3 separate regions of the Homo sapiens genome follow, and regions 1 and 3 are each linked to region 2. The links are contacts of gene promoters, found by promoter capture Hi-C in blood cells and fetal thymus (Javierre and others, 2016). All regions are on one chromosome and are shown on one strand. Each heading gives the region's core, a stretch centred on a gene start or on the middle of the fragment in contact. The rest is flanking DNA. Distances are from core to core; before and after follow the strand shown.

What was found. Contacts are between HindIII fragments. The CHiCAGO score rates a contact against its expected background, and 5 or more counts as called.
Region 1: a contact is called between a fragment that was not itself captured here and the fragment with the promoter of EFCAB9 in region 2, in 1 of 17 cell types (total CD4 T cells). The highest score is 6.1, in total CD4 T cells.
Region 3: a contact is called between a fragment that was not itself captured here and the fragment with the promoter of EFCAB9 in region 2, in 2 of 17 cell types (naive CD8 T cells and total CD4 T cells). The highest score is 6.0, in naive CD8 T cells.

What each region holds. Positions count from the first base shown.
Region 1 is chr5:171,877,374-171,882,480 of GRCh38, reverse strand. FBXW11 (F-box and WD repeat domain containing 11) reads left to right here. Exons shown (of 14, transcript NM_001378974.1): 8 at 4,352-4,470. Among named protein-coding and RNA genes, the nearest start is that of SMIM23, 94 kb to the right of the region's middle. The HindIII fragment of the contact is 4,838 bases long and covers 331-5,107 here.
Region 2 is chr5:172,191,183-172,196,001 of GRCh38, reverse strand. EFCAB9 (EF-hand calcium binding domain 9) reads right to left here and starts at 1,830. Exons shown (of 4, transcript NM_001171183.2): 1 at 1,694-1,830. The coding sequence starts at 1,829. The HindIII fragment of the contact is 7,932 bases long and covers 1-4,648 here.
Region 3 is chr5:171,895,646-171,900,157 of GRCh38, reverse strand. It overlaps FBXW11 (F-box and WD repeat domain containing 11), which reads left to right. Exons shown (of 14, transcript NM_001378974.1): 5 at 58-244; 6 at 1,064-1,154. Among named protein-coding and RNA genes, the nearest start is that of FBXW11, 110 kb to the left of the region's middle. The HindIII fragment of the contact is 5,005 bases long and covers 1-4,175 here.

The sequences.
Region 1 (5,107 bases), core at 1,500-3,999, 310 kb after region 2:
AATTAAAAAACATTAGCTGGGCATTGTGGCATGCGTCTGTAGTCCCAGCTACTCAAGAGGCTGAGGTGGGAGGATCACCTGAGCCCGGGAGGTCAAAGGCTGCAGTAAGCTGTGATTGTGTCACTGTATTTCAGCCTGAGTGACGGTGTGAGACTTTCTCTCCCTCCTCCTTCGCTGTGTGTGTGCACATGTGTGCATGTGTGGGTGGGTGTAACTAAATGAAAATGAAAGCCCAAGTTATCAAAATCTGTGGGATGCAGTGAAAGCTTAGAATTTTATAGTATTGAGTGCATATATTAGAAAAAAGACTAAAAATCAGTCATCTAAGCTTCCACCTTAGGAAACTAGAAAAAGAACAGTTTAAATCCGTAGTAAGCAGAATAAAAGAGTTAATGAAAAGTAGGGCAGAGATCAATGAAATTGATAACAGGAAATCCATAGAAATAGGTAAGGAAACCAAAAGATGTGTCTTTGAAAAGATGAGTAAAATTGATAATTACGTTAGCTATGCTAACATAGAAAAAAAAGCACTCAGATTCCTAATATTGAAATGAAAGAGGAGACATCACTATAGCTCTCATGAGCGTTAAATGAATAATAAAATAATATGATCAACTCCCTGTTTACAAATTTGATAATTTATATGAAATGAATTAATTCCCTGAAAGACACAGTCTTCCAAAATTGACATAAAAACAAATAGGTAATCTGAATAGGCCTTTATCTGTTGAAGAAATTGAGTCAATAATTAATTACTTTCCAAAACAGCACCAGGCCCAGATGAGTTACTGGTGAATTCTGTCAAACATTTAAGTAAGAAATTACACCAGTTCTCTACAATCTCTTCCAGAAGATAGAAGAAGAGAGAATATTTCATCACTCATTCTATGAGGCCATTGTTACCTTAGTACTAAACTAGATGAAGACATTCAAAGAAAACCACAGACCAATATCTTCATGTTTAACCTTCAAAAATCAATTAATCCGTCATATCAATAAGCCAAAGAAGAAAATCACGTCAATAGATGCAGAAAGGGCGTTTGAGAAAATTGAACACTCTTTCGTGATAAAAACCCTTAGTAAACTATGAATAGAGGGGAACTTCCTTAACTTGATAAAGAGTATCTACAAAAAGCCTATAGCTAACGTCACACACAGTGCTGAGAAATGTGAAACTTTCCCACTAAGGTCAGGAATAAGACAAAGATGTCCCCACTCACCACTATGTTTCAACATTGTATTAGAACTCCTAGATAACACACTAAGACAAGGTATACAAATTGAGAAGGAAGAATTAAAACTGTCTTTGCTTGTAGATGACATGATTGTAGAAAAAAATGAAAGCATCAACAAAAAAAACCTCCTAGAACTAATAAATGATTATAGCAAGTTTGCCGGATACAAGGTTAATATACTTAAGTCAGTTGCTTACCCATATAGCAGCAATGAACAAGTGGAATGTGAAATTAAAAACACAATAACATGGCTGGGCGCGGTGGCTCACGCCTATAATCCCAGCACTTTAGGGAGGCCGAGGTGGGTGGATCATCTGAGGTCAGGAGTTTGTGACCAGCCTGGCCAACATGGTGAAACTCCGTCTCCACTAAAAATACAAAAATTAGCCGGGTGTGGTGGTGGGCGCCTATAGTCCTGCTACTCAGGAGGCTGAGGCAGGACAATAGCTTGAACTTGGGAGGCGGAGGTTGCAGTGAGCCGAGATCGCGCCATTGCACTCCAGCCTGGGTGACAGAGTGAGACTCCATCTCAAAAAACACAATAACATTTATATTAGCACCTCCCCCACCAATGAAATACTTAGGTATAAATCTAACAAAATATTTATAAGATCTATGTGAAGAAAACTATAAAACTGATTAAAGAAATCAAAGAACTAAATAAATGGGGAGAGATATTTCATGCTCATGGGTAGGAAGACTATTGTGAGGATGTCAGTCATTTCTTCCCAAATTGGTCTGTAGGTTCAATGCAGTCTCAATCAAAATCCCAGCAAGTGATTTTGTGGATATCTACCAGCTGACTGTAATGTTTATATGGACAAGCAAAAACCAGCATGATACTGAAGTAGAATAAAGACAGAGGACTAACACTACCCTACTTGAAGAATTACTGTAAAACTGCAGTCATCACAGTGGTGTGGTGCTGGCAACAGAATGGACAGCTAGATCCATGGAACAGAATAGAGAGCCCAGAAATATATACCTTCATAAATATAGTCAGCTGATCTTTTACAAAGGAGCAAAGACAATACAGTAGAGAAAAGATTGTGTCTTCAACAAATGGGGCAGAAGCAATTAGACACCATATTGCCTCCCTTACCCTTAAACAGTCTAGACATAGATCCTATATACTTCACAAAAATTAACTCAAAATGGATTAAAGACCTGACTGTAAAACACAAAATCTTAAAATTCACAGAATGTAACATAGGAGAGAATCTAGATGATCTTGAATTTGTTGATGACTTTTTAGATATAATACCAAAGCCATGACCCATGAAAGAAAGAATTAATGAGCTGGACTTTGTTAAAATTAAAAATTTCTGCTCTGTGAGAGACATTGTCTGGAGAATGAAAAAACAAGCCACAGACTAGAGAAAATGTATGCAAAAGACATACAAAGAACTCTTGAATCTCAACAGTAAGAAAAAAAACAATTAGCTTAACCTGATTTTTAAAAATAAGGCATAGACCTTAACAGACATCTCACCAAAGAAGGATATACAGATGGCATATTGTAAGTATGTGAAAAGATGTTACACATTGTAAGTCATCAGAGAAATGTGAATTATAACAGTGAGACACTACTACACACCTGTTAGCATGGCCAAAATCCAGAACACTGACAACACCCAATGCTGGTGAGAATGTGGAGCAATAGGAACAGGAACTTTCATTCATTGCTGTTGGAAATGGAAAATAGTACAGCCACTTCAGAAGGCAGTTTGGCATTCTTACGAAACTAAACATACTTTTACCATATATACCACTTAGTATTTACACAACAGAATTGAAAACTTAGGTCTACACAAAAACCTGCACCCAGATGTTTATGGCAGCTTTACCCATAATTGCCCAAACTTGGAAGCAACCAAGGTGTCCTTCAGTAGGTGAATGGATAAATAAACTGTAGTACATCTAGACAGTGGGATAATTTTCAGCACTAAAAAGGAATGTATATCAAGCCATGAAAAGACAGGGAGGAACCGTAAGTGTGTATTACTGTGTGAAAGAAGCCAATCTAAAAAGGCTACATACTGTATGATTCCAAATCTGTGACATTCTAGAAAAGACAAGTCTATGGAGGCAGTAAAAGAAGCGAGAAAAGGAACACTCAGAGTGTGAAAACAACTGTTCACAACATTTTACCTCCTTTAATCCTTTCTTCCTTTTCTAAAATATACATAGTCATTGTGTCACTTTACAGATAATTTTTGTTCTGATTTTTAAAATGCTTAACTTTGTAATAAAGCATGATATTTTCTCATTAAACACTTCATAGTTTACTTTGAGACTTTTATGAAATGCTGGACATTTCATTTTCCACTTTTTGTTTTTGTAAACGTAGGGGTATGCATTTGTAAAACCTCTTAATAGACGTTGTCATGTTGCTTTCCAGAGAGTGAGCCAATTCTTTTTCATTAATATTTTTATGAGACATAAAAATAAAATGACAAAGCAGAGTCCTGCTTTGTTGCCCAGGCCGGAGTACAGTGGTGTGATTATGGCTCACTGCAGCCTTGCCTTCTGGGCTCAAGCAATTCTGTCACCTCAGCCTCCTGAGTAGTTGGGACTACAGGCACACACACCACCACACCTGGCTAATTAAAACACACACACACACACACACACACACACACTCTCTCTCTCTTACACACACACACACACACACACACACACACTCACACACTCTTATGGAGATTGGCTTGGTATGTTGCCCAGGCTGGTCTTTTAACTTCTGGGCTCAAGCGATCCTTCTGTCTCGGCCTCCCAAAATGTTGGGATTATAGGCATGAGCCACAGCACCCAGTCAGTGAGCGAATTCTTTTCACAGATTTTATTTTTAAGAAGTCCCCTTTATGAGGCTGTTGATAAGTATACTGAGATCAATAGCTAAGGGTTCAAATTAAGCAAAATAGCACATCTATCCTAGTAGTTAATCACTATTGTCTGTATTCCTTCTTGTCATTTCTTACCTGTTTGTTATTCAGTGTTTCTTATTTACTGTAACCCAAGTGTGTTTTATTTTATAATCAGAACATAAGGTGGGACAGTAACATTCATCAAAATATAGTATAATTAATCATCGTTTGTGGCTAATCTTGTCTCAATAGATATGGGATAAAACCAGCCTGGAATGTTTGAAAGTGTTAACAGGACACACAGGCTCTGTCCTCTGTCTGCAGTATGATGAGCGTGTCATTGTAACTGGCTCTTCAGATTCTACGGTGAGGTGAGTGATCTGGCTTCATTGTTCTTAACTTGTAAGCCTTCCCTGAGAAAGTCTGAGATTGACATCCTCCTCTGGGAGAGGCATACACAAACTTACATTTTTACATGCTGTATTTCAAACTACTTTTATTGTAGACATGTTTGCGCAAATTAGGCAGGAAAGCTAATTTTTGTTAAGGGTGTTCTATTCCTATTGCTGTTCATTGTAGAGATGACAACATGCTTTCCTGTAAGAGCATATACCAAGTATTAGGCTGGCTTTCTTCTTTTGGTTATGTGGTCCAGAGCAGAGAGGAGACACTCACTTCCAGGAGTCACTCCTGGACTCTTTCGCCACCCCTGCTGGAAGCATCGCCACCCCTGCTTGAAGCATGCTTAGTATCCTCTCCTGGACTCAGTGCTTCCGTACCCCTGCTTCTGCCAGAGATCATGTCTCAGCCTCAGAGGCCTGAGTCTTTCCCCCTCTGCCCTATGTGAACTTGTCCTCTTAGGAGATGAGGGTTACAGAAAAGCCGTGATGTGGAAATGCTGCTTCCAGATCCCTGGATCTACAAAGCAGTTGGGAGACCCTGGCTTTGTCCATAAAGCAGCTGGGTAAAGAAGTGGATGCGGTGATTGATGAGGCATCATGACTTACC
Region 2 (4,819 bases), core at 581-3,080:
AACCCCGCCCGTCTTTACTAAGAATACAGAAATTAGCGGGTGTGGTGGTGCACAGCTGTAGTCCCAGCTACTCAGGAGGCTGAGGCAGGAGAATCACTTGAACCCGGGAGGTGGAGGTTGCAATGAGCCAAGATTGGGCCACTGCACTTCTGGGCGACAGAGCGAGACTCCGTCCCAATAAATAAATAAATAAATAAATAAAAGACTGTTTTGAAACCGGTGGACTCTGGCTCACCCAAGTCTCCAAAACCTTAAGTCATTCCCCCACAGGAAGGCAAACATTAAGGCTGTGCCTTCACCCTTCCAGGTCACTCTCCAGTCCCTCTGTGACCAGAAGACATGAGCATGGCGTTACCTCCTGGGTACTGCATCAGCAGGGAGGTTACCAGGGAGCTTAAACTCCTCAAGCATCCCAGAGAGACTCAGCATGGGCTTTGCAGGCAGAGAGCCCTGCGTTTCCATCTCAGCCTTTTATTTACAACTAGGTCCCCTGCAGCTGCCTTATCTAGGGCAGGGTTATTGCGAAGATTTGGCAATGCACTGTACATAAATCTCTATGTAAAGAGAGAAAGAAGGTGTTCTTTTTTAATTGTTTTTAAAAATTGAATGAACTCCTTAAAATCATGACGGAGGAACCCCTTACTCACGGATGACATTTCTCTCTCTGAGGTCAGAACGAGTGAATGGATAGGATACCTTATTTCTACTCAGTCCTAAAAATAACCTCAAGTGTTTAATTGGACTTCTATTAGTTTGTGAACTCAACAAGCATGGCTGAGATCTGCAGCTTTTATATTTATTTATTTATTTATTTATTTTTATTTATTTATTTATTTATTTATTTATTTTTGGTCATTCACAAGTACCAATAAGTAGAAGGGATCCTGCAGCTCATCAGATTCAAACTTCCCACATGACAGATAAATCTTGCTGAGGGGTCTCCAGAGTTAATGCCTGAGTGGGGCTCAGCTCCCAAGAATAATAATTACAATAATAACAAACACTTATTAAGTCCTTACGATGTGTCAGACACTGTGCTAAGCATTTGCCATACTCTCATTATCTTTTTTTTTTCCAACTATGAGATGGACTCCATTATGAGAAGCCTCACCTCTAGATGAGGAAAATGAGACTTAGAGAGGGCGATGACGTGTTATCCACATCACCAAGGAATAATGGGTGTGGAGCCAGGATTCCACCAGAGTCTGCAATTTTCTCCTCCCGGCTGAACTGTCCCCCGTGTCAATTCTGAGTTGGCAACTTCTCTCTGTGCTTCAACTAGAAGATAAAATATTTACTAACAGGCCGGGTGTGGTAGCTCACACTTGTAATCCCAGTACTTAGGGAGGCGGAGGCGGGTGGATCACCTGATGTCAGGAGTTTGAGACCAGCCTGGCCAACATGGTCTGGTCATCTCTACCGAAAATACAAAAAATTAGCCAGGCGTGGTGGCAGACACCTGTAATCCCAGCTACTCAGGAGGCTGAGGCAGGAGAATTGCTTGAACCCTGGAGGCGGAGATTGCAGTGAGCTGAGATCGCGCCATCGTACTCCAGCCTGGGCAATAGAGCGAGATTCCGTCTCAAAAAAAAAAAAATGTACTAACAAAATAGTTTCTGGCTCTGCAAGTTTTCTTACACATTAGCTAAAACCCAGGTAAGGACCCAGAGGAGACATGTCTGAAAGTACTGACCATTCAAGGTGTTCTTGCCGTGCACGTCCAGAATATGAAAATATTCTGCCAAAGCCTTCACGTTTCTCACGGATAATAAGCAGTATATTTTGTCCAGATAGAGGTACCACAGAAACGATCCTTGCTTCAGTCTCATCTTAGTACTGTGTCAACTGAAGGCTCTGGCAACCAGAAATAGAATACAGAACCCTGCCTCAGAAGTAGAATGTTGGATATAGTGTCTGAGATCTGGCAGCAGTGAAGGTAAACACGTCAGAGGAAACAGTCAAAAATTAAAATTGCTGCTTCTTAATTTTTCCAGCTATGCTATAGATAGATATCTGCTGTCCGAAACCTCTTGGTAACGTGATTATCCTTATGTCACTAAAATACAATCAGTTCTAAAGGAGATCCACAGGCTGTTCAGAAATGAATGAGAGAATGTGCTACATAGGAAAACTGCTACACAGCCCAAGTGGTTTTCAGAGCATTTATAGCCTAAATCATTTATTAGAAAGAAGAAAAATTGAAAAACACATGGAAAAGTACTAAAAGAGCCTAGAATAACTACAGTATAATAATGCCAAAGAGAGGAAGTTTTTCTTTTTTCTTTTCTTTTTTTTAATTGAGACAAGAGTCTTGCCTTGTCACCCAGGCTGGAGTGCAGTGGCGCGAGCTCTGCTCACTGCAAGCTCCGCCTCCCGGGTTCACGCCATTCTCCTGCCTCAGCCTCCTGAGTATCTGGGACTACAGGCGACAGGCGCCCACCAACACGCCCGGCTAATTTTGTGTATTTTTAGTAAAGACGGGGTTTCACCACGTTAGCCAGGATGGTCTTCATCTCCTGACCTTGTGATCCGCCCGTCTTGGCCTCCCAAAGTGCTGGGATTACAGGTCTGAACCATTGAGCCCTGCCTCTTTTTTTTCTTTTTTTGAGACAGAGTTTCACTCTTATCATCCAGGCTGGACTATAATGGCACAGTCTTGACTCACGGCAACCTCTGTCTTCTGGATTCAAGCGAATCTCCTGCCTCAGCCTCCCGAGTATCTGGAATTACAGGCATGCACCCCCACGCCCAGCTAAATTTTTGTTTTTATTTTTTATTTTTTATTTTATTTTATTTTTATTATTATTATTTTTTGAGATGGAGTCTCGCTCTGTCTCCCAGGCTGGAGTGCAGTGGCGCGATCTCGGCTCACTGCAAGCTCCACCTCCCAGGTTCACACCATTCTCCTGCCTCAGCCTCCCCAGCAGCTGGGACTACAGGCACACTCCGCCACTCCCGGCTAATTTTTGTATTTTTAGTAGACACGGGTTTCACCGTGTTAGCCAAGATGGTCTTCATCTCCTGACCTTGTGATCCGCCTGCCTCGGCCTCCCAAAGTGCTGAGATTACAGGCGTGAGCCACTGCACCCAGCCCAATTTTTGTATTTTTAGTAGAGATGAGGTTTAACCATGTTGGCCAGGGTGGTCTTGATGCCTGCCCTCAAGTGATCCACCCGCCTTGGCCTCACAAAGTGCTGGGAGTACGGGTATGAGCCACTGTGCCCTGACATTAATTTTTTTTTTCTTTTTTCTTTTTTTTTTTTTTGAGACAGGATCTCACTCTGTCTCCTAGGCTGGAGTGCAGTGGTATGGTCATACCTCACTGCAGCCTTGAATCCCAGGCTCAAGCTATCCTCCCACCTCCACCTCCTCATAGCTGGGACTATGCCCATGTGCTACCACGTTGTATTTTTTGTAGAGATAGGATCTTGCTACATTGCCAAGGCTGGTCTTGAACTCCTGGCCTCAAGCTATCCTCCCACCACAGCCTTCCAAAGTGTTGGGATTACAGGTGTGAGCCATGGTGCCCAGCCCCTCCTCTGTCTTAATTTTCTACTCCCTACTCACTCCCAAATAAACCACTTACACTCAAATCCTTGCCTCAGGGTCAGTCTCTAAGGGAATCCAACCTAAGAATACTATAAAATGCTTTTTCTGTGACTATTAAGACTATGTGATTTTTCTCCTTTACTCTGCCAATGCAGTGCTATTACAGTAGATTTTCTGATGTAGAACCATTCTTTTATTCCTGGATAAACCTTTTGTGGTTACGATATTTTTATTCACCTCTGGTTTGATCTTGCTAGCATTTGTATTTTCCCTGTCTTTTTAAGAACTGAAATTAGGCCGGGCGTGATGGCTCACACATGTAATCCCAGTACTTTGGGAGGCTGAGGCGGGCGGATCACGAGGTCAAGAGATTGAGACCATCCTGGCCAACATGGTGAAACCTCATCTCCACTAAAAATACAAAAATTAGCCGGGCGTGGTGGCACGTTCCTGTAGTCCCAGCTACTTGGGAGGCTGAAGCGGGAGAATCGCTTGAATCTGGGAGGTGGAGGTTGCAGTGAGGTGAGATCACACCATTGCACTCCAGCCTGGCGACACAGCAAGACTCTCTCTGTCAAAAAAAAAAAAAAAAAAAAATGAAATGAAATTAGTCTACAATTTTCTTTCTCTCTCTCTCTTTCCTCTCCTTCCCTTCCTTTTTAAGACAGGGTCTCACTGGAGACCAGGCTGGTGCAGCGGTGAGATCACTGTTCACTGCAGCCTCGGCCTCCTGGGCTCAAGGAATCCTCCTGCCTCAACCTCCTGAGTAGCTGGGACCACTGGTGTGCACCACCACGCCTGGCTAATTTTTTGACTTTTTGTAGAAACAGGGTCTCACTTTATAGCTCTGGCTGGTATGGAACTCCTGGGCTCAAGTGATCCTCCCACCTCAGCCTCCCAAAGTGCTGGAATTACAGGTGTAAGCCACTGTGCCTGGCTTACAATTTTCTTTTACTGTCCTTATCTAGTAATAGTAAAACTCATCTTATAAAATAAATTGGCAGATTTCCTTCATTTTCTATCTTTTAAAATAATTTATATAAAGAAAGAAATTATTTGTAAAACCACACAGACTGATGTCTTTCACCAAGAACAAGCTTTTGATTCTTGATTTTTGTGGTTGTTGTTTTTTGGGTTTTTGTTTGTTTGTTTTTGTTTAGAGACAGAGTCTCACTGTGTTGCCCAGGCTCGAGTGCAGTGGTGTGATCTCGGCTCACTGCAACCTCCGTCTCCTAGGTTGAAGGGATTCTTGTGCCTGAGTCTCATGAGT
Region 3 (4,512 bases), core at 424-2,923, 300 kb after region 2:
TGGCTGGTACCTTTCTATCTCTCTTCCCGTTCCTTCATTCCCTTTTCTGTTTTGTAGAGCAAGGCTTAGATCACATAGCAGAAAACATTCTTTCGTACCTGGATGCCAGGTCTCTGTGTGCAGCAGAGCTGGTATGTAAAGAATGGCAGCGAGTGATCTCAGAAGGAATGCTTTGGAAGAAGCTGATTGAACGAATGGTACGCACTGATCCCCTATGGAAAGGACTTTCAGAAAGAAGAGGGTGGTAAGTACTTGGGTTGCTTGTTCCCTTGAAAAAATTTTATTGACATAGAGTCAGCTTGATTACTCAAAAATGCAATTATACTTGCAAATGTGCTGGCCTATTTTTAAAAAGGGGGGAAAATGAGTGGTCAAAAGTTGGAAGAAAAAGTTAAAGCTGTTAAAATTTCTCCCTCTGAAATGTGTATTTCCTTTATGAACTGTATTATATAGTTTGATGGGATTTGGCGTTTCAAAGCTATGTATTTATGTTTTTTCCTTCACATTTTGCTTAGTTGATGATACCATTACCAAAATATAGATATGACAAAAATATGAGAAAGTCAGATAGTGCCATTTTGCTGTTTGTTATTACTGCTGGTTGAGGAAGTAATAACAGTGATAGGATTTTTCAGAGAAAACTCATAACTCTGATGCAGCTTTATAGCTAGCTGTATGCTGTATGGCCCAGTTAGCAAAGAGAGAGAGCTACAGACAGAGGTGCATATAGGGCTGTATTTTCCTTACGGGAGGAAGTTTGATGTGTACTAAGTTAGATTTTTCACAAAGCTACATTAGCGCTTTTTATTAAACTCTATGGAATGAAAGGCTAGATTGTTACATATTAGTACTCAGAAAACACGATCAGGATTTTGTTAGAGAGCTGTGAATTGAGCTAAACTTGTCTGTAACATGTAAATTTGTCAGAAATCCTGCTTTTGAACTGTTAAAACTCAATGCAAATTAAAAGACATGAAAGATATATCTTTGTCAGCACCATGTTTAGATAAAATTCACCCTTTTATGTGCAAAAATGTAACATCTGTTTGTTTTTATTTGCCAGGGATCAGTACCTGTTTAAAAACAGACCCACAGATGGCCCTCCAAATTCATTTTATAGGTCATTATACCCAAAGATTATCCAGGATATAGAGGTAACTTTATGATTTATCTGTTTTATGGGCTCTTTGTTTCTTGTTCTCAACTTTTTATGTTGCCTTAGAGTGTTCTTTTGGTCTAAAATCGTAGAACTAATAATTTTTTTTAAAAAGTTGAGCTTTTGGAGTAAATGTGTCATGTTGTATATAATCTGCAGCTATTCTGCAGAGAAAATAATGTCTTTTGCAAAGAATATCTAACTTTTCTAAAACATGAAATGCTTCTGCAAGGCTGCCGGTTAATTCAAACCTTAATCTAAAATCATCTTTTTATTCTAAGCTGATAAATTTTCCAAAATCCAAGGCCCCGTTTTTTTAAGTAAGCATTGTTTTACATTTTTGAGCCATCTCTAGAGAACTAGAGAAGGCACATTTCAAGTTTTCTCTGTACATTACTCATAGTTTTTCATAAACATGACTCAGATATCATTCTAAGCAATAGTTAAGTGGATTTTATAGGGCAAATTATGCTCCTGGACCATTTTGGATTTGAGCGTAACTTCACCAGACCAGTAAAACTCTGTAAACTTGATGAGAAACATTGGAGATGTTTGATATCGTTCATGTGTTCTAATTAGTTCAGTTTTACTATTTTAGCCTTTTTCCTTGAACCAGGAAAGACATGCACAGGCATTTCTCATTAACTCTTTCACATGTGTTCTTGGCAGGTCTTGGTTACTTCACTGTTTCCTCCTTGGCAGAAAACTTTAGCCTTTGCTAGGCAATGCAATATCACCCATAAAGTTATACTCAGTTTCCCAAATGTGAAGTAATCCTCTCCCCCAGGTGATAGACATAAAAGTTATTGTGCCAAAATTCATTAACGGAGAAACATGTGCTTTTTCAGACCCCACCACCCTTCCAGGCAGATGTGAATAATGGAATCATTCCATTAATGGTAAATCTGAATGTGACTGGAATATCATTATTTAAAGCCCAAACTGTCTTGAATATTCTGCTCTCTGAAATGATCTATAAAGTAACCCTTTAAGGAGGTTAAATAAAAACTTTCACTAGATAAATCATAAAGTTTAAGAATTAATTGACCATTGGCAGTTCCAAACTTAGAATAAGTTGCCCCTACAGTGCTAGTGGCTGAGACATGGTGTTAACTTTAATCTTAGGTTGATGTGTGTGTATTGTAGGGGAGATGGGGCTGTCTCTTACCCCAGGTAGTTGTACTAAGGCATTTCTTATGTACACATCTTATAAACTACATTACCCTCTGTTTTTTTTTTTCACTTGATGAGGGGCAACTATTTACAAAGTTATTTCCAGACTTCTTTGAATAATTTTATCAAAAAAATTCTTTGAAAAGAATGATGTTTAAAGTTAATTATGAACAAACAGGAACCTTGAAGAACTCTGATCAGGTTGAAGATGTGGCAACATAGATAGTTTGATTGAATCCTCATGACTGCTGTTAGAATTGACAATGTGAATTCAGTATTCTGTGGCATGACAGTATCTGACACCACCTGCCATCATCACTTCTTCAGGCTGAAATGATAGTTTAAAGTAGGAGAGGAGGCAGGTGTGAGGGGAAACAGCTCTGTGGGAAAACCCTGTGCGACACAGCCTCTACATCATGGTGGTCTACCCAGTGGTTCTTAAAGTGTGGTTTGGAAAAACCCACTGGTTGGCCACAAAAGTCTTCTCCAGATTTTTGTGGGCTAGACCTCTTGATATAAGGGATGATGTTTATACTTTGATATATGTGCTACTAGTAATAATCATAAAAGTAATGTACCACTAATAGCATTTACTTATGCCAGATACTTTGTTAACTACTTTATAATGCATTTTCTCTTTTAACATTTTGGACAAAACCTGAAAGGTAGGCCAAGTACTTATTTAAATTTGAGGAAACCTTAGAAGGTTAAAAAGGTTAAACAGTTTAGTCAGGATCACACAGCTAGTGGGTAATTGAGAGTCTGTGATCAACCATGTACCCTTCTACCCTTAATACGAGTTTTTAACAATAGACCACTGCTACCACCTCAAAATAGATTTTTTTTTACTCCCATTTTGAGAGTGTGTTTTATTCTGTCTGGAATAAAACAGAATATATAGAGTTTTATGTAGAGAGTTCTTCCAGTGATCCATGGATCAAATGAGAGCCTCTCACGGGCTTGGCTCTGTCCGTATGACTGGTATGAAATCCTCACAAGCAGACTATAATAATTACAAATACCCACTTCGAGTTTTTGCATATATCAAACCACGTTGGGTGATTTACATAGATGATTGTTTTTTATTCTTACAACAAGGTGCATGTTATTATCTTTATAATAAGGGGAAACTGAGACTAAAAGAAGTTTTAGGACTTGCTACATAGTTAAGTAGAAGAGATGGGATGGGCTTTTAACTGAGGTCTGTCTAGCTCTATCCAGGCTGAGAGTTGTTGTTTGTCATTTTCAGAGTGGAAAATTCAGGAAGTGAGGGAGAAAGAGGCATGTTTTATGCCTGCTGAATTTCAAGGTGGCCTTTGCCTCTTTCTCTAATTGTGTGAATACGCAGTGTCCTTGACTGTTCGTTGAAAAAAGGGTATGAGTTAAGATCTGATTAGTGGGCCCTGTTTTAGTCCAGTTATGGGAAAGTAGTAGGGTTTTAAGCACATTGCAGAAAGATAAATGACACTTGGAATGTCAAGTGGCTGTTTATGTCCCCCCTCCCTCCCCAGTTGCCTGTACATAGCTTCAGAGTCTCTTGTGTTGTTTCCCTTAGACTTTGCAAGGTTGCCAGTTCACAACACCTTTTTCTTTTTTTCCTTCTTCCTCCACCTCGACAGCTTGGCTTATGTGCCAGCTCCTGTAATCTGTACGTTCCCAGATTTGGCTCTGATGAGGAGAAAGGAAATGTTCATCTCTGAATCTGCGCTTCTACATTGACCCACCGAAAATTGGCTTAATTTTAAGGGAAAATAGAGAACCTGGCTTAGTGCAGCCAACTCCTGTTATTCAGGAAATGAGGATGTGAGAAATGGAGTCTGGGGAGAATAAATAAGTATTGTAAGCTTTCTGCAAAGGCTCATCTCGCCTGGGTGTTCTTGCCACACATAGAGAGGGTTTAGAGGGCCTCTGAATTGAGAAGGAATTCCTAGAAAACCTGAGGCTCGCTCCTAAAAGAAGCAGCCATATTCTCCTTTGCTGTCTAGAGTCTTAGTTGTTGCTGTTATTATTGTTGTTGTTACCATTAATGGTGGGCTGACTGCTGGATACTTTGCTACAAGTGATTTAATTTAATCCTCGAATTGTCAAAGCTGAGATTCTTACTTCAAAGCCCATGCTGCTTTCACTCTAGCGTGCCCCCAATTGTCTATTAACAGAGAGATAGGAGTTGTTATAACAGCCCT